4 separate regions of the Homo sapiens genome follow, and all the other regions are linked to region 1. Evidence: promoter capture Hi-C in 16 types of primary human blood cells and fetal thymus (Javierre and others, 2016). All regions are on one chromosome and are shown on one strand. The core of a region is centred on a gene start or on the middle of the fragment in contact, and the rest is flanking DNA. Distances in the headings are between cores, read along the strand shown. Region 1 holds the start of DPF2 (double PHD fingers 2). Region 2 holds the start of RELA (RELA proto-oncogene, NF-kB subunit). Region 3 holds the start of SIPA1 (signal-induced proliferation-associated 1). Region 4 overlaps MAP3K11 (mitogen-activated protein kinase kinase kinase 11).

Region 1 (3,018 bases), core at 299-2,798:
CAGTGAGCTGAGATAGTGCCACTGCACTCTAGCCTGGGCTGGAAGGAAGAATTTGTTAAGGAGCGACAAGAGCAAAACTCCGTCTCAAAATAAATAAATAAATAAATATAAACAAATAATGTTGTTACGAACATTCTTGTACAGCTTTATTTTTTTTTTTTTGAGACGGAGTCTCGCTCTGTCACCCAGGCTGGAGTGCAGTGGCGCGATCTTGGCTCACTGCAAACTCCGCCTCCCAGGTTCACGCCATTCTCCCACCTCAGCCTCTCCAGTAGCTGGGATTACAGGCGTCCGCCACCATGCCCGGCTAATTTTGTTTTTGTATTTTTAGTAGAGATGGGGTTTCACCATGTTAGCCAGGACGGTCTCGATCTCCTGACCTCGTGATCCGCCCACCGTGGCCTCCCAAAGTGCTGGTATTACAAGCGTGAACCAATGCTCCTGGCCTGTTTTTTTTTGTTTTTTTTTTTTAAGAGACAGGATCTTGCTATGTTGCCCAGGCTGGTCTTGAACCCCTGGGCTCAAGTGATTCTCCCACCTCACCCTCTCAAGTAGCTGGGATTACAGGCATGAGGCATTGCACTCAGCTTCTTGTACAGCTTTCTTGTGTGTATATCCAGGAGTGGACTTTGCTGGGTCATAGGGTATGTGTATTTTCAGCTTTAGTGATTATATTTATATATATATATATATATATACATATGTATATATATACATATGTATATATATGTGTATATATATATATGTATATATGTGTATATATATATGTGTATATATATATGTATATATATTTTTTTTCCTTTTTTTTTTTTTTTTTCTTGAGATGGAGCCTCGCTCTGTTGCCCAGGCTGGAGTGCAGTGATGTGGCTCCAGTGGCTCACTGGAGCCTCAAACTCCTGGGCTCAAGTGATCCTCCCACCTCAGCCTCCCTAGTAGCTGGGATTACAGGCATGCACCACCATGCCCAGCTAATCTTTTTTCTTTTTCTTTTTTTCCTTTATTTATTTATTTATTTATTGAGAAGGAGTCTCGCTCTGTCGCCCAGGCTGGAGTGCAGTGGCGCGATCTCGGCTCACTGCAAACTCCGCCTCCCGGGTTCACGCCATTCTCCTGCCTCAGCCTCCCGAGTAGCTGGGACTACAGGCGCTCGCCACCACACCCGGCTAATTTTTTGTATTTTTAGTAGAGACGGGGTTTCACCGTGTTAGCCAGGATGGTCTCCATGTCCTGACCTCGTGATCCGCCCGCCTCGGCCTCCCAAAGTGCTGGGATTACAGGCGTGAGCCACCGCGCCCGGCCCCGGCTCCTGCTCCTCTAAATATTAGAGGCAAGCCTCGAACCGGAGCTCCGGGATGCATGCCAATCTCCGGTTGCGCCTGCGCGTCGGGCTCCCGTGGGGTCCACGCATTTCCTACCCGGCCCCCGCGAACAGGCGTAAAGCTCTTTCTTCAGTGCTCGCTCTAGTGCGCGCGCCCGGACGGCGCCTGCGCAGAGGGCAAGGAACCTGGTACCCCGGTGCGGTCCCGGCGCCTGCGCGCTGCGGACTGTGGGGCTTCTCGGCCCGAGGCAGAGGAACAGGGAAGATGGCGGCTGTGGTGGAGAATGTAGTGAAGCTGTGAGTGGTCGTTTCTTTCTCTCCTAGGGCGGCAGGTTTTGTAAAGGGCCTGGGAGTAGGGGGCGGTGGGGGAAGGGACTAGGCGGAGAGAGGGACATCCCCGGGAAAGCCATGTTGCGACTCCTGGTGGGGAGGGCAACAGGAGACTCCGGAGAAGACGTTGCGCTTCTTTGGAAACTTGTGGAGGCCCTGGTGGGGGCACACTGGAGCCCCGACGGGCGGCATCCCTGCGGGGCTGTGTGGCCTCAGCGTTCCTCGGGGCTGACGGTTTCCAGAGCATGGCGCCCTGCCTGCACGCGAGACTCACCGTCCCGGTCCTCTCCCGAGACGCCTCAGTCCGGAGGAGCGGGGCCGAGGCCCGGGCGGCCCTACGGCTGGCCCGCCGCCCACCCCGCCCCGTCCCGTCCCGTTCGCTGCAGCAACAGGCTCGGCGGCCCCTGCGGAGTGCACTGCGGGGCTGGCTGTTTCAGTTCCAGGCAGCCCCGTGATGTTTGGGAGGATCTTGGGTGGCAGGTACCTAAGACTACAAATATTCTTGGGAAGAATTTATCGAGGAGCGGATCCAGAAGGGAAGGAACTTCAGGGGAGTGGGCCTTGGCCCCGTCCAGTAGCAGCCATCAAAAACCTGCAACTGGACCGAAGCCGTTCAGGACAGCTTAGCCTAAAGGGGCATCTAGGTGGGCATTCTTCCTATTATACGATACCATTGTGCTGGTCAGATTTCAAGCAAAGTTAAAGTTAATAGCTGTTGGGGCCATGGACGCTGGCCTATGAACTGCTTCCTGTGAGTTAAAGATGCTTTGGGACTTGATTTATTCCTACAGAAGAATCAGAATGAGTTTTAGATTGGGTTAATGCATGGTGGGCGAATAGAGCTTCTTTTAATGGGTATGTTGGGCTTGGTGCAAGGGTGGGAAAATTGAGTGGTGTCTAGCTGTCCAGTCAGGGTTTTTGCATTTTGACTGGATGACGAGGTAAAGGTTCGGTAACTCTTCTAAGGGACTCACAGCTTCTCATCTGTCTTTGTCGTGGCCTGAGCCCCACTCTTCCTAAGAGCCTTTTTAAAGAGTAAGTTGCTTCTCCCTCCTGCCTGAAGCCTTTTCTTTGAGAATGCTTTCCCACTTCCATTAAGCTAAGTGCCTTTCCTCCTCTTGTGGTTTGTTTTTTTTTTTTTTAAGTTGCTTTCTGCTCTATCCTGCTGTCTCTTTCAGCCACCCCTCCTCCCAACGCTATTGTCTTTCTCTCTGATCTGCCCACTCCAGTTTCCCCAGCTCTTTCTTCAGGCTGACATTTTTCTCAATTTAGAAATGACACTGTTGATCTACCATTTATCCAGTTATCCTTCCTGACTCAGATGTTCTTTCTTTGTTTCCCTGCGTCTTTGTTGACTTCCCTCATCCCAT
Region 2 (3,018 bases), core at 519-3,018, 330 kb after region 1:
CCTCAGCCTCCCTGGGACTATAGGCGCATGCCACCATACCCAGCTAATTTCTTATTTTTTGTAGACATGGGGTCTCACTATGTTGCCTTGGCTAGTCTTGAATTCCTAGGCTCAAGAGATCTTCCTGCCTTGGCCTCCCGAAGTGCTAGGATTATAAGCATGAGCCACTATGCCCGGCCTGTATATTTTTTTACAGCCTGTCTCTGTCAACTGCAATGTCAACTCCAGGGGAGAGTGCTGGTTCAATGGTTTTCTTCCTCAAACAAGAGACGTGACTCTGAGGGACTTGTCCTTCCAGCTACAGGGGTCAGGAATTCAGAAGTGATTAGGGACCCATCCGTATCCCCTGGAACTCATCTGCTAGAGTAAACGTACAAATAGATAATTTCAAGACAAAGGCAGTTTACTTGCAGAGCTGAGTCAGGGCAAGGAGTGAGGAATTCTGCCCTGGGTCCAGAAAGGAGTAACACTGTAGCGGCTACTTCATAGCCCGCCTCCTGTCCCCTCATGCTGGGCCTCCTAGCCTGCAGGGACCTCACCTGTGGATGCAGCGGTCCGGGCAGAGCTCAGCCTCATAGAAGCCATCCCGGCAGTCCTTTCCTACAAGCTCGTGGGGGTGAGGCCGGTGAGGAGGGTCCTTGGTGACCAGGGAGATGCGCACTGTCCCTGGTCCTGTGTAGCCATTGATCTGTCCAAAGTACAGAGGCCCAGACATCCAAACCTGACTCCCAAACACAGAGGGCTGGGGTTCCACAGTCCCTTCCCCGCACACCCTGGCGCAGTGCTGACCTTGATGGTGGGGTGGGTCTTGGTGGTATCTGTGCTCCTCTCGCCTGGGATGCTGCCCGCGGAGCGCCCCTCGCACTTGTAGCGGAAGCGCATGCCCCGCTGCTTGGGCTGCTCAATGATCTCCACATAGGGGCCAGAGGCCTGGGCTGGCTCTGCCAGGGGACACCGCAGCCCCATTAGGCGGCTGCCCCCACTGCCCTACCCCAGGGAGCACCTCCCCGACCGCCGCGGGGGCCACTTACCTGCCGGGAAGATGAGGGGGAACAGTTCTGAAAGGGGAGGGAGATCAGGGTCAGCACACACCCAATGCCCATTCTCACAAGGAGGAATCTGCTCTCCACGGAGAGGAGAAGCCAGGCTCCCTCCCAGGGGAACTGAGTCAGGACCTGCTCCCTAGAACCTGCGGTGAAACTAAGGGGTGGAGGAAAGGAACCAGAAACACCTGCTTCTTGAGGGAAAACGGGGTAAGGAATCCTTCTTCTCCAGAGGGAAGCTGAATCAGGGCCTGTTGTACTTTCTTAAGGAAAATTGAGGGAGGGCACGCCCCACCTCCCTCCAGAGAGGAAACTGAATCAGATGCGTTCTCCCCTAATAGGGAAACGAAGCCAGAGCTGCCCCCATGGACGGTGTGGAGGGAAACTGAGTCAAGGTTCCCTCTGCTCCCCCACCCAGGGAGGATGCTGAGTCAAGGGCCACCCCCTCCACCCAGAGGGGAAACTGAGTCAGACCCCTCCCCGCCTGCCCCGCCCCGCGCCACCATCCGGCAGGCCGACCGCTCCCTGCGCAGCGCCCGTCGGCGCAGGAAGGGGCGGAAAGCGGCGCGGGGGCTCCCGCCACAGCCGCGGCGGCCCCGGCGATGCCACCCCGCGGGGTCAGAGGGCGACCTCACCGTCCATGGCCGGGGTCCCGGGGGCGGGGCCGGGGTCGCAGCTGGGCCCGCGGCGTGCACTACAGACGAGCCATTCGCCAGAGGCGGAAATGCGCCGCGCGGCCCGCCGTCGCGTCACTGCCCGGAATCCGGCCGCGCCTGCGCGCTGCCCCGCCGCCGCCCGGCGCAGGGGCCGGGAGCAAGTGCACGCCGCGCGGAGGACGAAGAGGCTGCACGCACAGCCGCTGCCGGGGGTCGGGGCCAAGTGCGCGCCTCGCCGAGGACGAAGAGGCTGGCGTGCCCGGTGGCTCGGCTAGCTCCCGGGTCCCGGCCCCGCCTGGAGGGTGGGTCCGCCGATTACTCACTTTGTTTTTAGGGGATTTCAGGGCCCCCTCCCGCCGATCGGCGGAGTTTGGTGATGTCACTCTGGGCCGGGTCTGGAGCAAAGCCAGGGCTACTGGGCTGCGGCCGCCCGCCCCGCGCAGGGAAAAGCCCGACCGGGCCTTCTGCTCCGCAGAGGCCGGGTGGTTGAACTCCGCGCGGGTTTCCTAACCGCTAAAGGTGCCTTTCGGTGGTGGCTGTCTCAGAAGCACGTTAAAATGTCCTACCCACCCCAATCTAGATGCGGCTGTGGGGGAATGGGAGCGGCCGGACCTCCCAGCCTGACAGTGCATCAAGAGCTTTGCGGAGCCTACAGCCCGGATGGGACGACTGAGGCCCTCCCGCTGGCGAGCTGGCCGAGGGCTCGTCCCTCTCCAGCTAAAGCGCCAGCTTACGATACAGCCAAACTGCCGGCTCTCATCGGCTGTGGGAGCAGGAGGCCCCCAGGGGTAAATCCCGGAGCCTCGTCTCTGAAGCCTGGCGCTTGTGTCTCAGAAGGTGCGGGACCCACAGGGACACTTGAATCAGCAGGCTCACGACCCCCCACCCCCCTGCCCCCGCCTGTGTTTGCCCTGGACCTCCAGCTAGGGCTGACCACTAATTCTGTCATGTGACCCCACAGTGCAGGTAGCTCCCCCAAGACCAAGCCCAAGGCGCGTCCGTGTGGAGGCTGGGGCTGACGCACCCCCACCCCAGGCCTCATCCCCAAAGGAGGATGCTCCACTGCAGGGGGCGGAGTCTTCTCCAGATGGAGAAAGACTTTTTTATTTTCTCTGAATTCGTCTTAAATTAGGAAATCATGTGGGAATTGGAAAAGATTGGAAATTCTGACTTGTTTCCCAGGCTCTGAAGAAACAGGAAGAGAAAAGTGAAAATAGAGTTAGCACCCCGCCCACTCATTTCAGTTTCTCCAGTGGCTGGCCCTGATTAGAAAAGTGTTTACTTTTGGCAGGGGGCGGGGGAGGCCGACTTCAGGTGAC
Region 3 (3,018 bases), core at 1-2,500, 300 kb after region 1:
ACATTCCTTGCTTGGACAGCAGTGCCCCTGAGAGTGGCACACCTATGGGTGCCCTGGGCGACTGGCCTGCCCCTATTGAGGAGCGTGAGAGCCCGGCAGCCCAGCCCCTGCTGGAACACCAGTACTGAGCTACCTGGCGCCCACTGGACCACCTCCTAGGATTCAGTAACGGACCTGCTCTGCTGCCTCTCTGCTGGACCACAGAACTGAGTGGCTTTGGCCTACATGTCTGAACCCTGACCTTTGGCTGCCTTGGCCAGAGTACCAAAACTGAGTGACCCAGACCTCTGACCTTGACCCCTGATCTCTCTCATCCCCAGTCCAGGGCCTGGGCTCCCCAGATGGAGGCAGTCAGCCTCCCAGCCAGGCCCTAAGAGCCAAACCATGGGCTGGTCCCACTTGGAGCCTGTGGCCAGGACCACCTCAGCCCCTGGGCCTGCACTGCCTGCAGGTGTGGCCCCCTTGGCCTGGACCTGGGGCCTGAATTGTGGGAAGGGTGGTTTCTTTCTTTCCTTTTTTTTCTTTTCTTTTTTTTTTTTTTTTTTGTGCTTCGGAGACATCAGAATTAATAACACTATTTTTGATTTTGGTTGGCAGTTTCTTTTTCTACCTGGGAATGGGTACATGATAGTACAGGCGGCTAAGTTGGGATGGACAAGCACGCAGAGGGGTGAAGGATGTGGGGCTGAAGTCTAGTAGAGATCAAGGGCAGACCAAGGTGGGGTTCAGGTAGAACCGGGTCCTCTTCACCGCATGGCTGCTCCCTTTTCAAGCCTTTATCTGAAGGGTATTGTCTGCCATTTCCCACCATATGGTCAGACTTCCAGGTCTGGTGGCTCCTACATTTATCAGGCTTGTTCTTGGCCAAAGCCTTTCTCTGCACCTCAGCTGCTCCAGGGCGTAAAGAGATGACACCTATCTAAGGTGTTTTTAGAATAAATGAGAGCGCGCTAGTGGAATGGTTGCCCAGGGCCCAGTGCTTAGCAAGTGCTCCATAAAATAGTGGCAGACTCTTGAGCACCTGCTGGCCGGGAGCTGGACGCTAGGTGGCCTCCGCTAGCCCTCCCGGTTGGTCTGGAAGGCAGGCACAAGTTTCTCAGGAGAGGAAATGGCCTTAGAATGAGCACTGCTCGGTGCTGACCTCCGCCAGGCCTGGAATCCCCGCTGCTGCGCTTCCCGCCGCAGACAGCTCCCGGCCGGCCCCGCCTCCCGGCATGGCCCCGCCTCCCAGCATGGCCCCGCCCCCAGGCGGAGCCGGCGCCGGGAGCGGTAGCGGGAGAGCGGCAGCGGGACCCCAGCGCGGGCGGCGGCGGCTGGGCGGGAGCCCCAGAGGTACTGGCGGGAGCAGGGGACGGGAGGCACTACTGTCGGGCCCGACAGGGGAGAGGTGGCCTAGCCGTGGGCCCGGGTGATGTGTATGGGAGTGGGGTCCTCGCCACGTTCGCCGCCAGCACCCTCCCAACTTCCCTCCGGGCTCCAGCTCAGTCCCGAGTCAATATGTCCAGCCCCCTGTCTCTGACCAGCCGTTCCTACTCTCTCTGTGTGACGGCTTAGCCTGGCCAGCCAGCCGGTGAGTGGAAGCGGCGGCTCCTGACTCCTGGTGGCGGCACTGTGACCCCCTCCCCCTCAACACTGCAAGTGTGTGCGGGGCTCCCCCTTATTCTGAGGCTCCTCTTCTTCTTAGGCGGCCTCCACCCCAGTCCCTGGCCTGGCCTGGGAGGAAACATCTGTCGCGCCCCCTGGCAGCCGAAATGGGGTCATGACCTCCAGATGTGCTGGGAAGTGGCCAGCTCCTCCTCCTGGGGCAGCCAGGCCTTCCGGATCTGTGGGGGCGGGGCCGGCCCTTTCCCCCCACCCCTAGTGACACAGGCCCGGAGGAATGTCCTAGCCTCAATGGACCCTGTGTGAAGCTTCAGGGTGGGGGGCAGAGCCCGAGAACACCCCTCAAGGCAGCGCCAGAGCCTGGCACTGGGCCACAGCAAGAGGCAGCGCACAGGCTGGGTGCACACATGCACAGATCTCACTTCCAAGCGTGCAGAGCTCAGCCCACAAGGAGCGGGGCTTGCACAGACCCCCTCCCTCATGCCCTCCTACTCCTTCACACACTATAGCCCAGGCCCGAGCGCTGAATGTGCCCAGAGCTTGGCTCATGGAGCCAGGGGCTACACCCGTCACACACACACATAGCTAGCGACACTCACCTCATTCTTCTCAGTCTCTCAGCAGCCTTGGGAGGGGACAGAAATAATTAAACCCAATTTTTTTCTTTGTTTTTTTGGAGACAGTCTCACTCTGTCCCGCAGGCTGGAGTTCAGTGGCGCGATCTCGGCTCACTGCAACCTCTGCCTCCCAGGTTTAAGCGATTCTCCTGCCTCAGCCTCCTGAGTGGCTGGGACTACAGGTGCGCACCACCACACCCGGCTAATTTTTATGTTTTTAGTAGAGACAGGGTTTCACCATGTTAGCTAGGCTGGTCTTGAACTCCTGACCTCAGGTGATCCCCCCGCCTTGGCCTCCCAAAGTGCTGGGATTACAGGCCACAGCCACCGCACCCGGCCAGTTAACCCCATTTTAGAGATGAGAAAACAGAGGCTCAAGGTCAGCATGGGAGTTTATTCAGGAGAAATCAAGGTAGAAGCACCTGGGCTGGGGAGCCGACTCTTGCTTGGTTCTGGAGGCCCCAGACGAAGGGTGTGTGGAGCCCCTCCTCCACCCCCCTCCGGCCCAGCCCCGCATGATGTTGCTGGATGCTGCATGAAGACCCACCATTAGATGCCTGTACCCCCAGTGGAGGTTCCCCAGCTCCCTGTCCTCACTGCCTACTCCATCCAGGGCTTGCCTGGGTGTGGCTTCCCTCAAGTTCTCACACCACCATTTGCACCTGCCTCTGGCGTCACGTTTCCGCACTTAGCAGGTCCCTGGGGCTTTGGGTGTCTCAATCTTGCATCCTGTGAGACCTTGAACCTCAGCCCAACACCCACCCCCCAAAACCTACGCACACAGACAGCAGTGGGCAGG
Region 4 (3,018 bases), core at 258-2,757, 270 kb after region 1:
CCCCACTTCGCAGGTGAAGAACTGATCATTTACAGTGAGTTTAAACAGAAGAGGGGAAATCATGTTTAAAAAAAAGAAAGAGTTGGCCGGGTGCGGTGGCTCACACCTGTAATCCCAGCACTTTGGGAGGCCAAGGTGGGCGGATCACGAGGTCAAGAAATCGAGACCATCCTGGCCAACATGGTGAAACCCTGTCTCTACTAAAAAATACAAAAATTAGCAGGGCATGGTGGCACGCACCTGTAGTCTCAGCTACTTGGGAGGCTGAGGCAGGAGAATCGCTTGAACCCAGGAGGCGGAGGTTACAGTGAGCCGAGATCCCGCCACTGCGCTCCAGCCTGGGTGACAGAGTGAGACTCCATCTCAAAAAAAAAAAAAAAAAAAGCAAGAGAGGCTGGGAGTGGTGGCTCAAGCCTATAATCCCAGCACTTTGGGAGGCCAAGTAGGGCAGATCACTTGAGGTCAGGAGTGCATGACTAGCCTGGCCAACATGGTCAAACCCTGTCTCTACTAAATACAAAAATTAGGCCGGGCATGGTGGTTCACGCTTGTAATCCCAGCACTTTGGGAAGCTGAAGCAGGTGGCTCACTTGAGGTCAGGAGTTCGGGACCAGCCTGGTCAACATGGTGAAACCTCATCTCTACTACAAATACAAACATTAGCCGGGCATTGTGGCACATGCCTGTAATCCCTGCTACTTGGGAGGCTGAGGCAGGAGAATCACTTGAACCTGGGAGGTGGAGGTTGTAGTGAGCCGAGATTGCACCACTGCCCTCCAGCCTGGGCAACAGAATGACACTTCATCTCAAAAAAAAAAAAATTAGCTGGGCATGGTGGCACATGCCTGTAATCCCAGCTACTGGGGAGGCTGAGGGAGAATTGCTTGAACGTGGGAGGTGGAGGCTGAAGTGAGCTGAGGTCGCACCACTGCACTCCAGCCTGGGTGACAGAACAAGACTCCTTCTAAAAAAAAAAAAAGAAAATAGCAAGAGCAAGCTGGGTGTGGTGGCTCACACCTGTAATGCCAGCACTTTGGGAGGCTGGGGTGGGTGGACTACTTAAGCGCAGCCCAGCCTGGGCAACATGGCAAAACCCCATCTCTACAAAAAATATAAAAATTAGCCAAGCATGGCATGCACCTGTAGTCCCTGCTACTCAGGAAGCTGAGGTGGGAGGATCACTTGAGCCTGGGAGGCAGAGTTTGCAGTGAGCCATGATCATGCCATTGCAGTCCAGCCTGGGTAACAGAATGAGACTCTATCTTTAAAAAAATAAAAGACAGAAATGAGACAAAGGGAAGAGAAGATAGGGTCCAGCAGACAAAATGAGAGTGAACAGAAGTTCCTGCAGTCAATGGCCTGAGAAACTGAGGTTCTGAAGGGTAAGGGACTTGGTCAACATAATCCAGCTAGGATTTGAATCTGCCTCTAAGCTTCCTGGCAGCAAGAGTTAGCAACTCTGTTGTTTAGGAGAAAGCTGCGTGACTATTCTTGACCCAAAGATAGATAGATAGAGGCGAAACTGCTTCCGTGAGGTCTCACAGGGAGGACACAGCCACGTAGTTATTGGCTCTAAGGCAACAAGCTTCACAGGGCAGTTGCTATCAGCGTAGCTGAGTGCACCCTGCCAATGTGCCACTCCTTGCAGCCAGCTCTCCAGGGACCAGAACAGCCCACTGGGGACAGGGTGAGGGTGTGTGTGACTCTCCAGTGGTATGGCTTATGCCGGGGACCATCTCACAGGGTCTGGGACCTCTGTGAAGCCCCATTATTTGATTCTTAGCTGGGTTTCGGGGGGTGGCTGTGAGGTCAATGTCATGTACTTTCATGGACCCAGATGATGCGTGGAGTGTGGGATTGGGCTAGGGGAACCAGATGCTCAGCCAGCCACTGAGCTGGGCAGCTGACATCCTTTCAGGGCAAGTGGCAATCCATTTCTTCATCAGCCAGGAAGGGCACTGGTGTTGAGGCCGACATACTTATCAAGAACAGTAACTACCATGGTTTCCAGTGCTTTCATGAAACCTCAGACATGTGGCCTTCTGGCCACACATCTGCAATTTCATATTGTGGGAGCATTCACTGTATCCCTGGGGGCTGCGGCTCTCTCAGTTTGCAGGGGCTGGACCAAGAAAGAAGGCATTTCAGATTTCTATGGGCACAGATGTCTACAGAAGTTATGATGCCATGAAATACTTCGAGGAGATGAGGAAGGCTGCTATCTCTCAGAATGCAAAGTGATTTTGGAATATGAAGAATTTCTTTGGGTTGAATTACTTAGAAGTTTGTCACTGATCTGAACTATTCATGAATATATGGGCTAATAAGTAGTTTCTCTTCATAAATAATTAACAAATTCTTTGGATAAAAAAACATGGGGCAAGCTTGAGAACGATGGGGCCCAGGCCCCTTGTGCCCCTGCTTCTGGGAGCTGAGGGCCAGAGAGTTCTGTGGAACAGTCAGGACCTGCTTCAGCCTACACACCTGGGTTGACAGGCTCTCAAGTTCTCCTTTGGCCCATCTGGCCTGGTACAATTTAGAGCAAGTGAATTCAAGAAGCCTCCTTGGCCTTCCAGCTCTCAGTTCAGTCCCTGCAGGACAGATGCTGGGGGCAGTGCAGCTGCTGGAGTAGCAAATGGCGGGGCAGATGGAGGCCCAGGGCTCTGCCTCTGTGGTCAGACAGGCAAGAGCAGATCAAATCCCTGCTCTACTGGTTGCCTTACATCAAACCACTTAATCTCTCTGTGCCTCAGTTTTCTCTGTTGTAAAATGCAGGCCAATACTACTACTCCCCTCACAGAACTGCTTGGCACATAGAAGAGAACCAACAAAGGTTAGCTGTTGTTACAACTATCAAGTGTAGCTCAGGGAATGGAAGAGGCGATGGGCTGGGTGGGATGGGAGGAGTGAGTTTAAACGGCTTGCTGAACAGGACTCTTCTGAGAGCAGCTAAGCGGGTCCTACATTCTGGCTGTGAGCAGCAGGTGTGGGGGCTCTGAGGATGGTCCCTAGGTTGGC

What was found. The method cuts DNA at HindIII sites, captures the fragments that hold promoters and counts their contacts. A CHiCAGO score of 5 or more calls a contact.
Region 2: a contact is called between the fragment with the promoter of RELA here and the fragment with the promoter of DPF2 in region 1, in 1 of 17 cell types (neutrophils). The highest score is 5.8, in neutrophils.
Region 3: a contact is called between the fragment with the promoter of SIPA1 here and the fragment with the promoter of DPF2 in region 1, in 1 of 17 cell types (neutrophils). The highest score is 5.4, in neutrophils.
Region 4: a fragment that was not itself captured here is called in contact with the fragment with the promoter of DPF2 in region 1 in 1 of 17 cell types (megakaryocytes); the score reaches 5.1 in megakaryocytes.

What each region holds. Positions count from the first base shown.
Region 1 is chr11:65,332,304-65,335,321 of GRCh38, forward strand. DPF2 (double PHD fingers 2) reads left to right here and starts at 1,549. Exons shown (of 11, transcript NM_006268.5): 1 at 1,549-1,615. The coding sequence starts at 1,584. RefSeq lists an enhancer at 1,801-1,850 and a silencer at 1,901-1,990. The HindIII fragment of the contact is 9,595 bases long and covers 1-3,018 here.
Region 2 is chr11:65,661,148-65,664,165 of GRCh38, forward strand. It overlaps RELA (RELA proto-oncogene, NF-kB subunit), which reads right to left and starts at 1,769. Exons shown (of 11, transcript NM_021975.4): 1 at 1,679-1,769; 2 at 1,032-1,058; 3 at 790-941; 4 at 540-688. The coding sequence starts at 1,685. RELA-DT (RELA divergent transcript) reads left to right here and starts at 1,859. Exons shown (of 4, transcript NR_183625.1): 1 at 1,859-2,001. RefSeq lists silencers at 1,456-1,515, 1,576-1,985 and an enhancer at 2,076-2,275. The HindIII fragment of the contact is 22,197 bases long and covers 1-3,018 here.
Region 3 is chr11:65,636,851-65,639,868 of GRCh38, forward strand. It overlaps SIPA1 (signal-induced proliferation-associated 1), which reads left to right and starts at 1,251. Exons shown (of 16, transcript NM_006747.4): 1 at 1,251-1,332. PCNX3 (pecanex 3) reads left to right here. Exons shown (of 35, transcript NM_032223.4): 35 at 1-589. The coding sequence ends at 128. RefSeq lists enhancers at 72-862, 1,814-1,883 and a silencer at 1,094-1,463. The HindIII fragment of the contact is 3,649 bases long and covers 1-1,908 here.
Region 4 is chr11:65,601,838-65,604,855 of GRCh38, forward strand. All of the region lies in intron 8 of MAP3K11 (mitogen-activated protein kinase kinase kinase 11), which reads right to left. Among named protein-coding and RNA genes, the nearest start is that of KCNK7, 7.5 kb to the left of the region's middle. The HindIII fragment of the contact is 152 bases long and covers 1,432-1,583 here.